Regions from separate parts of the Homo sapiens genome. Here region 2 is linked to region 1. The links are contacts of gene promoters, found by promoter capture Hi-C in blood cells and fetal thymus (Javierre and others, 2016). All regions are on one chromosome and are shown on one strand. The core of a region is centred on a gene start or on the middle of the fragment in contact, and the rest is flanking DNA. Distances in the headings are between cores, read along the strand shown.

The links. Contacts are between HindIII fragments. The CHiCAGO score rates a contact against its expected background, and 5 or more counts as called.
Region 2: a contact is called between the fragment with the promoter of NUCB1-AS1 here and the fragment with the promoter of FUT1 in region 1, in 2 of 17 cell types (naive B cells and monocytes). The highest score is 5.4, in naive B cells.

Annotation. Positions count from the first base shown.
Region 1 is chr19:48,749,757-48,754,458 of GRCh38, forward strand. FUT1 (fucosyltransferase 1 (H blood group)) reads right to left here and starts at 2,885. Exons shown (of 2, transcript NM_001384359.1): 1 at 2,734-2,885; 2 at 1-1,527. The coding sequence starts at 1,525. The coding sequence ends at 428. RefSeq lists enhancers at 1,242-1,881, 3,087-3,673 and a silencer at 2,922-2,971. The HindIII fragment of the contact is 14,557 bases long and covers 342-4,702 here.
Region 2 is chr19:48,915,994-48,920,733 of GRCh38, forward strand. It overlaps NUCB1-AS1 (NUCB1 antisense RNA 1), which reads right to left and starts at 2,898. Exons shown (of 2, transcript NR_046633.1): 1 at 2,711-2,898. NUCB1 (nucleobindin 1) reads left to right here. Exons shown (of 13, transcript NM_006184.6): 8 at 2,733-2,791; 9 at 3,037-3,129; 10 at 3,201-3,293. RefSeq lists an enhancer at 3,097-3,596. The HindIII fragment of the contact is 8,372 bases long and covers 1-4,740 here.

The DNA of each region.
Region 1 (4,702 bases), core at 1,635-4,134:
ACTCCAGAAACACAGAAGGGGACTTGGTGAATGCTTGCTCTGGAGCAATCATATGCTCCTTCAGTCTTTGGAGGACCCAGGGGAGAAGTAACCCCTCTTCTAGAGTAGACCAGAGGGAGAGTTCCCCATTCCTGGGGGCAGCCATCTGGAAGTACTGTAGATATGGGCTGGGAAGAGCAGGTGGGCACTGTGGCTTCTAGAACTGCCTGCCAGCCATCAGGAAAAGATGTTTTGCTAGTTCTAGAATATTCAGACAGTTCCAGAAACGTCCCCCTTCTCTCCAACTCTCCCAACTAGAATCACTCTGGATACGGGCACCCATTTGCTTCAGGAACACCACAAGCTTCTCCAGAAGATGCCAGGCCTCTGAAGCCACGTACTGCTGGCTCTAGAAAGATCAGGCTACTTCAGAAAGTCTCCCTGGCTCTCAAGGCTTAGCCAATGTCCAGAGTGGAGACAAGTCTGCATTAATGCCCACCCACTCGGGCAGGAAGGCCGCCTCCGGCTTAAAGATCTTCAGGAACTCAGAGTCTGGCAGGGTGAAGTTGGCCAGGTAGACAGTGTCTCCGCCAGCCAGGTAGGCAGCCCAGAAGCCGAAGGTGCCAATGGTCATAATGGTGTGGTTGCACTGTGTGAGCAGGGCAAAGTCTTTCCACGGTGTAGCCTCCTGTCCATCGCCAGCAAACGTCACATCGCCCTGGGAGGTGTCGATGTTTTCTTTACACCACTCCATGCCGTTGCTGGTGACCACGAAAACGGGGGCTTCGTGCCGTGCCCGGAACCAGTCCATGGCCTGCCGGAGGTAGGCGCTGTCGCCCACCACACCCTTCCAGCGCTGAGGCATAACCTGCAGATAGTCCCCACGGCGCACGTGGACGCCGACAAAGGTGCGCGGGCGGTCCCCTGTGCGGCCCAGGCGGAGCTGACCCAGCACACTCTGCGCCTCTTCCCGAAGGTGGTCGTGCAGGGTGAACTCTCTGCGGATCTGTTCCCGGAGATGGTGGAAGAAAGTCCAAGAGCAGGGGAAGCCAGAGAGCTTCAGGAAAGGATCTCTCAAGTCCGCGTACTCCTCCGACATCCAGTCGTGAAGCTGCAGCTCCCGCCACGGCGTGCGGCTGTCCACTTCTGGGGCCAGCACGGGCAGGGTGATGCGGAATACCGGGGCCAGGGCGGCATGCATGGCAGGCAGGATAAAGGCCCGGCGGCCGTTGAGCTGGGCCAGAGCCAGCAGCGTGGCATACTGTCCCATCTGATTACCAAACCGGCCATTGGGGTAGACAGTCCAGGTGCCGGAGAGGGAAGCAGGGTGCTGGGGACAGGAAGAGGAGGCGTTGGGGCCCATCGCAGTACCCGGCAGGCAGAAGATGGCCACTGGGGGTGTCACCAGGCGGCGGTCTGGACACAGGATCGACAGGCCTAGGCCATGTGGAAAGCTGTCTTGATGGATATGGAGGAAGAAGATTACAGAGAGGACACAGACTAGCAGGAAGGCCAGGCAGAGCTGACGATGGCTCCGGAGCCACATGGCTGCAGGGGAGGAAAGGCGAATTAGCAAATGCTCTGAGGCTGAGGAGGGGAGGCTGAGGAGGGATGTGGGGTAAGGGAGGCGCCTGGGGTGCAGCACTCCTTAGTCCCAGGGAAAGAGGAAGTTAAAGGTTTAGACTCCTGGGGCTGAGGTAGGGAGAGCCTGAGTCCTAGGTTTCAGGGATGAGAGCCTTGGAATTTCGGGGCATGGGGACTGGAAGACAAGTGGTTTTCAAGATAGCCATGGTTTGGCTGGGCACTGTGGCTCACACCTGTAATCCCAGCATATTGGGAGGCTGAGATGGGAGGATCCCTTGAGCCCAGGAGTTCAAGATCAGCCTGGGCAACAGAGCACTCTTACAAAAAAATTTTAAAATTAGCTTGGCATGGGCCAGGCGCGGTGGCTCACACCTGTAACCCCAGCACTTTGGGAGGCCAAGGTGGGTGGATCACCTGAGGTTGGGAGTTCGAGACCAGCCTGACCAACGTGGAGAAACCCTGTCTCTACTTAAAATACAAAATTAGCCGGGCATGGTGGCGCATGCCTGTAATCCCAGCCACTCGGGAGGCTGAGGCAGGAGAATCGCCTGAACCCGGGGGGCGGGAGTTGCGGTGAGCTGAGATCATGCCATTACACTCCAGCCTGGGCAACAAGAGTGAAACTCCGTCTCCAAAAAAAAATAAATAAAATTAGCTTGGCATGGTGGCACATGTCTGTGGTCTCAGCTACACCGGATGCTAAGGCGGGAGGATCCCCGGAGCTCACAATGAGCCGCGATAGCACCGCTGACTGCACTCCAGCTTGCGCGACAGAGAGGGACCCTGTCTTAAAAAAAAAAAAAAAAAAAAAAAAAGAAAGTGGTCCAGGTTCCTACACCTTTCCTGAAGGAATCTCGAGTCTCCCCTCCTGTAAGTTCCGCTGATACTGGACTCTTCCACCAGCCTGTTTCTCAGGAGTACCTGTCTGTGAGGCGCAAAATCCACCACAGAGGTGGTGATGGGAAACGATAGTTCAAGTAAAACAAGAGAGGCTGGAGGGTCAGGAGCGGAAGGAGCATCTTGGTTCCTGGAGGAGTAATGGCTGGGGAGGTGGCGGAGATTCCTAGGGCCTTAGGAAGACCTGGAGAAGAGGTTGGGGGTGCACCTCCTGGTTCTGAAGGAGTTGTTCCTGGGTCCCAGGAACAACTGAGTGGGGCAGTCCCCACTTACCCGAGCTGCTTGCAGGTGGCAGATCCACAGTCCGCTTTTCGTGGCCGGAGCGCACCCTCCGCAAAGGCAGGCCACATCCGGCCGCCCCTGGAACGCCAGGCGTCCGGCTATCCGGCCCGGCAGCCCTCCCCTCCGCGCAGCCTGTCCGGACTGGCAGCGAGGGCTTGGGGAGGAGAGGAAGGAGAGGGCGCGGCCGGGAGTCTCGCAGCGTCCGCCCTCCCGGGCCGGGCGGATGGCTGGAAGGTGGAGCCCCGCCCGTCACTTGGCGCCGAGCCCCAGCGCCAGGGGCTAAGGCGATGGCCCCTGGGCCCACCGCTCCCCAGATCGGGGATGCAGGGGACCGCGCCCTGCCCCTCCGCCCCGTCATTGACCTGCGCGAAGGCTTCACCCAGGGCAGGCTACCTGGCTTCTGAGCAGCCGCAGCATCATTGCGTGGACCAGGAGACGGAGCGCCCAGTTGCAATGCTGGAGCCGGGAGGTCCAATCCGCCGCCCTCTCTCTTCCGGTGCCAGGGCTTAGAGTCGGCCCCCGACACCTGGGTGCTTCGAGCCTGGCCACGCCCCAGCGGCTGGGCAGGGCCCCCGCACCTGGTCCCGGCGAGTGGAGCGATCGTCCGCCCTCTGCCGCGTCCTCCTGGGGGATGGAGAACCTGTTTGCCAGGCTGCCGCCGGAGCGCGCGAGGGCCTCCAGCCTGCAGGTGCTCCCGCGCCCACCAGGGTCTCCGATCTCCCACACCCCCCGCCTCACCGTCCACACTCAAATTCCAGAATCCCAGCCCCTAGTCACTCCTTTTGGGGAATTCTAGGGTCCCGTGCCAAACTGCTACTTTCCAGACCTGCACTGCACGAAGGCAACCATTCCAAGGCTGGAGACCGGAGTGGAACAGGGTCTGTTTCCCACGCCGTCAGCGGGGGCCGTGGCTGCCGGCGCCAGAGACAAAGGCCTCTGCCCGCTTGTCACCTAATTAAAGCATTTTCTCTGGTCCAAGGCCCACCTCCAGCATCGCCAACCCCGAGCAGGGCAGGCTAACGTAGGGTCCAGCCCTACGGGGCTTTGCGGGTGGGTGTTCTTCCCCTGTGAGGAGAGGAGAGATTGTAAGAAATAAAGACACAAGACAAAGAGATAAAGAGAAAACAGCTGGGCCCGGGGGACCACTACCATCAAGACGCAGAGACCGGTAGTGGCCCCGAATGGCTGGGCGCGCTGATATTTATTGTATACAAGACAAGGGGGGGCAGGATAAGGAGGGTGAGTCGTCCAAATGACTGATAAGGTCAAGCAAGTCACGTGATCATGGGACAGGGGGCCCTTCCCTTTTAGGCAGCCGAAGCAGAAAGAGAAGGCAGCATATGTCAGCGTTTTCTTCTCTGCACTTATAAGAAAGATCAAAGACTTTAAGACTTTCACTATTTCGGGCGGGCGCGGTGGCTCACGCCTGTAATCCCAGCACTTTGGGAGGCTGAGGCGGGCGGATCACAAGGTCAGGAGGTGGAGGCCATCCTGGCTAACACGGTGAAACCCTGTCTCTACTAAAAATACAAAAAATTATCCGGGCGCGTGGTGGAGGGCGCCTGTAGTCCTAGCTATTTGGGAGGGTGAGGCAGGAGAATGGTGTGAACCCAGGAGGCGGAGATTGCAGTGAGCCGAGATCACGCCACTGCACTCCAGCCTGGGGGACAGAGCGAGACTCCGCCTCAAAAAAAAAAAAAAAAAGGCTTTCACTATTTCTTCTACCGCTATCTACTACGAACTTCAAAGAGGAACCAGGAGTACGGGAGGAAAATGCAAGAGGACAAGGAGCGTGACCATTGAAGCACAGCACAGCAGGATGACTGCGGGCAGGCCTAGATAATACCCAGCCTCCCACAAGAAGCTGGTGGAGCAGAGTGTTCCCTGACTCCTCCAAGAAAAGGAGATTCCCTTTCGTGGTCTGCTGAGTAACGGGTGCCTTCCCAGACACTGGCGTTCC
Region 2 (4,740 bases), core at 1,648-4,147, 170 kb after region 1:
CACTGTCATGCAACCAATTCTGAGAGCTCTTCATCTCGCACAACCGAAACCGTATCCATTAAACCACTCGCCCTCCCCTTCTTTCCCCTGCTCTCTAGCAACCACCATTCTATTTTCTGTCTCTATGATTTTGACTATTTTAGGTACTTCATGCAAGTAGAATCTTTTGGTATTTGTCGTGTGTGTGTGTGTGTGTGTGTGTGTGTTTGGCTTATTTCACTTAGCATAATGGTGAGGAACTGAAGTTTTCATTCTACTGGATATTAATTTCTATTTCAATTGCCCCATGTGGCTAGTGGCTGCTGTACTGGAGTCCCAGCACAGCTCTAGAGAGGACATTTGGGCTGGATGCGGTGGCTCACGCCTGTAATCCCAGCACTTTGGGAGGCCGAGGTGGGTGGATCCCTTGAGTCCAGGAGTTCAAGGCCAGCCTGGGCAACATGGCACAAACCCATCTCTACAAATAAAATACAAAAATTAGCTGGGTGTGGTGGCGTGCATCTGTAGTCCCAGCTCCTTGGGAGGCAGAGGTGGGAGGATCACTTGAGTCCAGGAATTCAAGGCTGCAGTGAGCTATGATCATACCAGTGCCCTCCAGCCTGGGCAACAGAGTGAAACCCTGTCTCTAAAAAATAGAAAATAGGCTGGGCTCAGTGGCTCACGCCTGTAGTCCCAGCACTTTCGGAGGCCAAGGCAGGCAGATCAGGAGCTCAAGAGATCGAGACCATCCTGGCCAACATAGTGAAACCCCGTCTCTACTAAAAATACAAAAATTATCTGGGCATGGTGGCACGCACCTGCAGTCCCAGCTACTCAGGAGGCTGAGGCAGGAGAATCACTTAAACCCTGGAGGTGGAGGTTGCAGTGAGCTGAGATCATGCCACTGCACTCCAGCCTGGCAACAGAGCGAGACTCTGTCTCAAAAATAAATAAACAAATAAATAGGCCCGGCGCAGTGGCTTACCCCTATAATCCCAGCACTTTGCGAAGCCAAGGCGGCTGGATCCCTTGAGACCAGGAGTTCAAGACCAGCCTGGGCAACATGGCAAAACCCCATCTCTATGAAAACAAATACAAAAATTAGCTGGGTGTGGTGGCGTGCATCTGTAGTCCCAGCTACTTGGGAGGCTGAGGTGGGAGGATCACTTGAGCCGAGGAGTTCAAGGCTTCAGTGAGCTACGATCACACCATTGCACTCCAGCCTGGGTGACAGAGTGAGACCCTGTCTCTAAAAAATAAAAAAATAAAAACCTTATTTAATCTTTTTAATCAGGCAGTCCCTACAGACCAGAATAGGTTCAGAGCAACTCCCTATACCTTTTTTTATTTTTCATTTTTTTTATTTTTAGAGATGGGGCTTCCCTTTGTCACCCAGGCTGGAGTGCAGTGGCGTGATCATGGCTCACTGCAACCCAGACCTCCTGGGCTCAAGTGATTCTTCCACCTCAACCCTTAGAGTAGCTGGGATCATAGGTGCACACCACCATGCCCAGCCAATTTTTAAATTTTTTTTTTCTTTTTGAGGCAGAGTCTTGCTCTGTTGCCCAGGCTGGAGTGCAATGGCATGATCTTGGCACACTGCAACCCCCGCCTCCCAGGTTCAAGCTATTCTCCTGCCTCAGCCTCCTGAGTAGCTGGGGTTACAGGCACTTGGCATTATGCCTGGCTAATTTTTGTATTTTTGTAGAGACGGGGTTTTACTATGCTGGCCAGGCTGGTCTTGAACTCCTGACTTCAGGTGATCCTCCTGCCTCGGCCTCCCAAAGTGCTGGGATTACAGGCGTGAGCCACCGCACCCGGCCCAATTTTTTACTTTTTTTTTTTTTTTTGTAGAGACGGGGTCTAGCCATCTTTTCTAAGCTGGTCTCGAACTTAATGTGCTCAAATGATCTTGCCTTAGCCTTCCAAAGTACTGGGATTACAGGCATGAGCCCCTAAATTTGGCCCCTACATTTTCTTTAATCTTAATCAATTTACATTTAAACAGCCCATGTGGCTAGCGGCTACTGTACTGGACAGCGCAGATCCAGAGTTTAGGCAGAGAAGAGACCCCCAGGCCTGAGCCCTGGGCCACACTAGCATGTGGAGGTCAGGAAGAGGATGGAGCCGTCAAAGGAGGTGGAGGGGCAGCCAGAGAGGACAGAATCATGTTCTGGAAGCCAAGGGCAGAAAGTCAAGTCAGATGCAGGTGGAAATTAACCACTGGATTTGCAAGATGAGGGTTCCTGGCCTCCTCCTCAGGAGGAAGGTTGTGCTTGTCTGAGGGAGCCGAGGAAGGAGGGCCGGTGGTGAGGACAGGAAGTGTGGCTGACCGAGCCTGAAGCCCTGCAGCTGTGGGGTCTACGTTGGTAGGAGAGGCTCCCCTCACAACTGGAGTCGGCACTGGCCTGGTTGTCTGGGAGGCAGAGGTCCCTGATAACCCTGGAGCTGACTCTGTGTCCAGAGCACTGAATGCCAGGGCCAGAGAATCCTGCATGACAGTGACCCAAGCATGTTTCCTCGAACCCTCCCTTTGATCTATTCCATTCTCAACCCCCTGGTCGCTAGGCAGTGGCCCTAGCAACGGGTCTAGTGGGGTACTAAAGCCTGGGGGCCACCGTTCCACCGCGGGAGACCCGTAGTTACCTGTCCTCTGATAACAGACCCCACATCAGCCCAAAATTTCTTCACCAGGGACCTTACACATCCCGTCCTCGGTCCCCTGAGATACCTTGCTATCCTCTTCCCTTCAGATATCAACAGTGATGGTGTCCTGGATGAGCAGGAGCTGGAGGCACTCTTCACCAAGGAGGTGAGCATCTTGGAAGCCTCGGGCACCTGGAGGGACGCCCAAATCAGCCACTTGTTTCCTCCTGCAGTCCCCTTAAATCCCCCTGGATGGGAGCTCAGTGAAAACTACAACTCCCATCAGCCCCTGGGGCAAAAACGGCTCCCAGGAGTGGTAGCGTGCCCAAAGGACTGCTGGGAGTTGAAGTTGTCGGGAATGAGCTCGCTGGGGACCTCTCAATGCTGTCTGCCTCTCGCTTGCTCCTGCAGCTGGAGAAAGTGTACGACCCAAAGAATGAGGAGGACGACATGCGGGAGATGGAGGAGGAGCGACTGCGCATGCGGGAGCATGTGATGAAGAATGTGAGGTGGGGGCCAGGCGGGGGAGAGGACGGGCCCCCAGCTCTGTCACTCACCCTTATCTGGCTCCCCAGGTGGACACCAACCAGGACCGCCTCGTGACCCTGGAGGAGTTCCTCGCATCCACTCAGAGGAAGGAGTTTGGGGACACCGGGGAGGGCTGGGAGGTGAGAACATGGGGGATACTCGGGGTCCTGAACCTCTCTCTCTTCTAGCCATGACCTTTCTTTCAGAATCTTAGGCCCCTTCTCTTTCTCTCTGGGTCCCCGTCCATTCTCCTGGGTCACTGCATCTCTATCTCTGGGTCTCTGTTTTCCCCTGTCTCTAGGACTCTTATTTATTTATTTATTTATTTATTTATTTATTTATTTATTCTGAGACGGAGTCTCACTCCATCGCCCAGGCTGCAGTGCAGTGGCACGATCTCGGCTCACTGCAGCCTCCACCTCCCAGGTTCAAGCAATTCTCCTGGCTCATCCTCTTGAGTAGCTGGGATTATAGGTGCGTGCCACCACACCCAGCTGATTTTTGTATTTTTAGTAGAGGCAGGATTTCACCATGTTGGCCAGGCTGGTCTCAAACTCCTGACCTCAGGTTATCCACCCACCTTGGCCTCCCAAAGTGCTGGGATTAGAGGTGTGATTTTTTTTTTTTTTTTTTTTTTTCTGAAACAGGGTCTTGCTCTGTCGCGTAGGCTGGAGCCCAGTGGTGGGATCTCGGCTCACTGCAACCTCCGCCTCTTGGATTCAAGCGATCCTCCCATCTCAGCCTCATGAGTAGCTGGGATTACAGGCGTGAGCCACCATGCCTGGCTAATTTTTGTATTTTTTGTAGAGATGGGGTTTTGCCATATCGGCCAGGCTGCTCTAGAACTGCTGGACTCAAGCGATCCACCTGACCTGGCCTCCCTAAGTGGTGGGATTACAGGCATGCACCACCGCACCACACCTAGCTAATTTTTGTATTTTTTGGTAGAGACAGGGTTTTGCATGTTGGCCAGGCTGCTCTGAAACTCCTGGACTCAAGCTATCCACCCTTCTCAGCCTCCCAAAGTGCTGGGATTACCCAGGCTGGAGTGCAGGGGTGTTATCATGGCCCACTGCAGCCTCAAACTCCTGTCCTCAAGTGATCCTCCTGCCTGAGCCTCCCTATTAGCTGGGACTACAGGCACATGCCAGCATGCCTAGCTAATCTAGCTCATTCTTTTATTTATTTATTAATATTTTTTGAGACAGGGTCTCCTGTCACCCAGGCTGGAGTGCAGTGGTGTAATCATAGTTCACTGCAGCCTTGAATTCCTGGGCTCAGGTGATCCTCCTTCCTTAGCCTCCTGAGTAACTGGGACTACAGGCACATACCACCATGCCCAGCTAATCTAGGTCTCTGTTTTATTTATTTATTTATTTGTTTGTTTATTTTTCAATACAGAGTTTTGCTCTTGTTGCCCAGGCTGTAGTGCAATGGTGCATTCTCAGCTCATTGCAACCTCCACCTCCCAGGTTCAAGCAATTCTCCTGCCTCAGCCTCCTGAGTAGCTGGGATTATATGCATGTACCACCATGCCCTGCTCATTTTGTATTTTTAGTAGAGACGGGGTTTCTCCATGTTGGTCAG